2 separate regions of the Homo sapiens genome follow, and region 1 is linked to region 2. The links are contacts of gene promoters, found by promoter capture Hi-C in human tissues and cell types (Jung and others, 2019). All regions are on one chromosome and are shown on one strand. Each heading gives the region's core, a stretch centred on a gene start or on the middle of the fragment in contact. The rest is flanking DNA. Distances are from core to core; before and after follow the strand shown. Region 1 overlaps PLCB1 (phospholipase C beta 1). Region 2 holds the start of HAO1 (hydroxyacid oxidase 1).

Region 1 (2,700 bases), core at 56-2,555, 460 kb after region 2:
TGTCCTTGGCCTTAAATAAATTATTCGGTTGTATGATTGAGAAGAGAAAAACCAATTATTTTAGAGGCCAGTCCTGAATTATTGCCTTAATAAAGGTTCAATTTCAAAAAAATGGGAAGTTGCTCAGTCCAGTTGAAAAACAAGGTGGGAAGAGTAACAGCAAGTGAGTCTTTAATTTTGTCAACATCTGATGCTACTGTTAACACAAAAAGTTGCTTTGAAAAAAATTCAACTAAATAAGTTGCCTTCGTGGTTTAGTAATTCCAGATATACACAATCGTCTGTTTATTTTCCCAAAGATCAAACTGTGTTCATCTATATATTTGCATACGTAACATATTAAAGTTTTCTCATCTAACATGACACTGTAAGCATGGCCATGATTCTAAATATTTTTAATATTTATCAGTTGTATAGCTGAATAATAATGCATTGATTGGAAATCATATTAACTACTTACTATTTACTTTTGAGTAGACAATTTCTGTTTTATTTTTGCTATTATAGGTAAATCTGAAGCAGATATCTCTTCTTCATTTGGCGTTTTTATTCTTTGGTAATGCCTCAAATTGTAATCCTAGCAGTGAGATTACAGATCCAAATAGATCTAATTCAATCCATTATCACAGGTTTCTTCCTCATTTCCTCTTCTTTCATGTATATCTGTTTTTGTATAGTGGCAATTTTGATTCCTTACTGCATTAATGTATTCACTTCTTTGTCATAGTCTACACAAAATAATTCTAGAATAAAAATACTGTTGCTACTAATACAAGTCCACTAGAGAAAATCCAACGTTTCTTTGCAATTATCTTTATTCCTTATTGTATGCTTCACTAAGAATATATACTCCAAGATTATTAAAATTATTTTCTATAGAGTTATATTATTAATTTGCTATACACTTAGATTTATATATTTATAGTTACGTTCAGTTTTAGAGATTAAAATGCTCTATTGCTTTTATCAATTTTACATTTGGAAAGTATAAAATATTCCTTTGCCTCAGCATTCAAAATTATATAAAGAAGAATGCTCAGGGAAGTCACTCTCATCCATATCCTTCCACCCTATTCCTACCCACCTTCTGGTTTTCCTTACCATGTTTCTGTTTACAAAAATAAGGAAACACACACACAAACCCATACCTAGCTACCCAGTCCTCTCATCTCATTTAATAAAAAGTCCATCTTTCCCCAGTGAATTGAGACACCAGTTTTTTCAAAATATATGTAAATTGCCTCAGTCTTTCTTACACAAAATGTAACATTCTATCTATGTGCTTTTATAGGTTGCCTGTTTTACTTAATATAACGTCAATACCTCTTCATATGGGTCATGGGAATCTTTTTCATTCTTTTGTACAGCTGCATATTGCTCCACTATATGGAGGTTCTGTAGTTTTTTCAGTCTTCTGTGAATGAGCATTTAGGTTGTTTCCATTATTTTTTATTATGCATAAGGCTACAATTTTTTTTTTAAATGCCTTCCTTTACATATGCAAAAGTTCAGTTTCAGGATAAATTCCTAGATTTGTTTGTTTTGCTAACATCTTCATAGACTTTTTCTTTGTTTAGATTTTACCATTTTCTACCCCCCTTGCAGTGTATTACAGAATCTTTATTCACACAGTCTCACCACAAAGTGTATTGTTAAGCTTGTTATTTTTGCCACTTTGACAGGAAATGTGATCAATACATTTTAACTTACCTTTTTCTTACCTATGCATGAAACTAAGCCTCCTTTCACATGTTTAAGGACCATGCATGTATATACATACATATATTTCTAAAACATATATAAATATGTATTTATACACACATATATGTCTTAATAAATATATGTCATATGTTTTAATATGTCATAATATATGTCTTAATATACATAAATATGTCTTAGTCACTTTGGACTTCTATAACAAATTATAAATATGTCTTAGTCACTTTGGGCTTCTGTAACAAATTACCATAGACTGGTGGCTGAAATAAAAACATTACCCACAGTTCTGGAGGCTGGGTAGTCCAAGGGCAAGGTGCCAGCAAATCTCATGTCTGCTGAGGGCCCACTTCTTGGTTTGCAGTTGGCTGCATTCTCATTGAGTCCTCACATAGGGGAAAGCAGAGAGAGGGAGAGTTGACTCTCTAGTCTCTTTTTCCAAAGACACTAATCCCATTTTGAGGGCTCCACCCTCATGGCCTAATCACTTCCCAAAGTCCCTACCTCCAACGCCCTATCACGTTGGGGTTTAAGCGTCCATATATGAATTTTGAAGGGAGACAAACATTCACTTAATAGCACAATGCTCATTTGCATAATTTGCACTTTTTTTTTTTCATCTGGTATTTCGTCCTTTTTTTCTCCCCTTGGTTTTTTTGAGCTCTTTATATATCAGGAGAATTAGCTCTCTATCGTACCCTAGAGGTGCAAAAATGTTCTCCCGGTTTATTTTTTCCCTTTTGATTTTGCTTTTGGTGTTTTTTTGTTGCTGTTGTTGATGTTGTTTCTGCCTTGTAAGTTTTTGTTTTTATTTTTATCTAGTCAATTTATCAATATTTTATCTTATTGCTTTTGGCATTTGAGTCACAGTTAGTAAGTCTTTATTCATGCCTAGTTTATAAAGAAAATTCACCTATAGCTTCTTTTTTTTTTTCTAGTATGACTTCGTGATTTTCCATTTAGATCTTGGAGCATCTTGGAGGT
Region 2 (2,700 bases), core at 40-2,539:
CTTCCCTTCCCATGACTTCCCTGGCATTTGTTGAGCTCATTTGGGTTCCAGGCAAAACCTGAGACAAAGTCAAGGCTTGAAAGGGTTGGGGAGAGGCCGTATCCTTCACCCCATTGCCATTTTCAGTCTTCTACATGGATTTGTGGGTGAATCAGTGCTGCCTACCAGAGACCACCTTGGCCAGGATAATTTTATTTCTCCTAATTTAAATATGGAAAACTGATTTTGAGTGATTTTGTTGTAGACTAAAGAAGAAATCAGGGAGGAAGGCTAATTCTCTCCCCCTGCATATTTTCTGCCTTTTTGTCTTTATCACCATCAATGAGTACCCACAATACCGATTGCCTTTACTAACAGCCATAATGTTAGATGGATGAGACTGAGTGTAGTGTAGTGAAGGCACTCCTCTCTTGCTCCAGCAAATAAACCATTTTTGTAACTGCTATAAAAAAAAACCCTTTGAAATGATTTTATTTCTTGTTTTTATTACAAACAGAAAACATAAACCATGTCACCCACCATCTTGTGCTTTGAAATATGAAAGTCAAAGGAAAACTAATTTGGGAAGAGAGATGAAGTGCTTTGAAGGAGAGATGAAACAGCAAAGTTGAAAGATTAATGCTGCATAGACAAATTGAAATCTAAAGTGAAAGTTTAGACAACAGTAATCAAAATGAATGATAACACGAAAAGCCAGCAGGAAGAAAACATTTGAGCCAACAATCCAGTCTGGTTCATCCGGATAAGATGGTTATCTGGCATTTAATGCTGTTTCCTACACCATGAACATAAGCATTTACTGTCATACTAAGAAAAAGAAAAGTCATCCGAATTTATCGCTATTTTTACATGTAGTTAAATTAATTGTTGTCATATTTCCAAGTGAAGTAACATAGGTTTGGCTTTTGCAGTCAGTTCCTCAAGATTCACAGGCTTGGAATATTTTTTAACAATTTAAAGGCCCAAGATTTCTTACAGCCCCAAGAACTTTTCCCTCTCTACTAAGCACAAATCTGAACAAATAATTACACACCACCAACGTAAAACTAGGAGATCTTATTTTGGTACGGTCTTTGTGTAATTTTAAAACATGATTTTAAAAAATAAATTTTCTTACCTGGAAAATGCTGCAATATTATCAGCCAAAGTTTCTTCATCATTTGCCCCAGACCTGTAATAGTCATATATAGACTTTGGAAGTACTGATTTAGCATGTTGTTCATAATCATTGATACAAATTAGCCGGGGGAGCATTTTCACAGGTTATTGCTATCCCAGATGGAGTTCGTTGTTTTTTTTTTTTTAATGTATTGCTTTCTACATCCTCACTGTTCTGTTATTTGTCAATTATTAATAGACTTTTGCCAAAGTTCAGATTTAGTTCTCTGTTGCTTACATCAAGTGAGCAAACATTATATGCTTAGCCTTTGAAATTTCATTTGTAGGCTATCTGCCAAAGAACACCGAAGTCACTATCTGCCAAAGAACACCAAAGTTGAGGTTGGGAAGGCAGCAGAAGGTGATTAGGTGTCTATCACATTAAAAAGGGGAAAGGAATAAGTAAAAAATTAAAGACTTAGAGGAATACCTGTATGAAACCACTCTTGGTTCAGTTTTGCCTAAGGCTGCTTATTGCACATGGTCTGTGCCTGTGCTCTTTGCTTGATACCCAGAATAGGCTGCCCACTCATTTTCTTTCCACATTTGGATCATGCACAAATCATGTAAACAAGAGCTTATGAACTGAACGGGGCATCCATGAAATATGGGGCATCCGTGAAATTCAGGGCTTCTGCACAATATAAAATTTAGCTGATTACAAACATAGACATTTGGCTTTAACATGGAACATTAAGGCCAAATTGACAGCTAATTGTTTTATTCATTCTGTATATTTGAGGTTTACAACATGATATTATGAGATACATATACACAGAAAAATGGTTACAGTAGGGAGGCCAATATAATATATGTATCATCTCACCCGTAATTACTTTTTTGTGTGTATGACAAGAACAGCTAAAATCAACTTATTTAACAAAAATTCCTAATATGATACAATTTTATTAACTTTAGTCCTCATTTTGCACGTTTGCTCTCTAGACCAGGGGTCCCAAACTCCCCAGCATGGACTGGTACTGGTCCGTGGCCTGTTAGGAACCAAGCTGCACAGCAGGAGGTGAGCAGCCGGTGAGCAAGCTTTACAGACTGAGCTCCGCCTCCTATTGTGAACTGCACATGCGAGGGATCTAGGTTGCGCCACTCCTTATGAGAATCTAATGCCTGATGATCTGAGGTGGAACAGTTTCATTCCAAAACCATCCACCTACCCCCACTGCCCATGGAAAAATTGTATTCCACAAAACTTGTCCCTGGTGCCGAAAAGGTTAGGGACCCTGTTGTAGATTTATGTATCCTACGTGTCTACTATTTTGTATCCTTTGACCTATATCACCCCTTTTCCTCTTCCCTGCTTCCCACTAGTGGTATTCACTGTTTCATTCTCTAGCTCTGTGCATTTGAAGTCTTTTTTAAAACAAAATCCCACCTATAAGTGAAATAATGCAATAATTTCCCTTTTGTGCCTGGCTTATTTCACTTAGCATAATGTTCTCTGGGTTCTACTGCAAATGACAGGATTCCCTTCTCTTATAAGGCTGAATAATATTTCATTGTGTGTATATCTATACATTTCCCTTA

The links. The method cuts DNA at HindIII sites, captures the fragments that hold promoters and counts their contacts. A contact is called where the count stands out against the background at its distance.
Region 1: a fragment that was not itself captured here is called in contact with the fragment with the promoter of HAO1 in region 2 in 2 of the 25 tissues and cell types used here (bladder and hippocampus).

Annotation. Positions count from the first base shown.
Region 1 is chr20:8,396,445-8,399,144 of GRCh38, forward strand. The region is part of intron 3 of PLCB1 (phospholipase C beta 1); the gene reads left to right. Among named protein-coding and RNA genes, the nearest start is that of PLCB1-IT1, 150 kb to the left of the region's middle. The HindIII fragment of the contact is 4,629 bases long and covers 1-2,700 here.
Region 2 is chr20:7,939,169-7,941,868 of GRCh38, forward strand. HAO1 (hydroxyacid oxidase 1) reads right to left here and starts at 1,290. Exons shown (of 8, transcript NM_017545.3): 1 at 1,118-1,290. The coding sequence starts at 1,254. The HindIII fragment of the contact is 11,188 bases long and covers 1-2,700 here.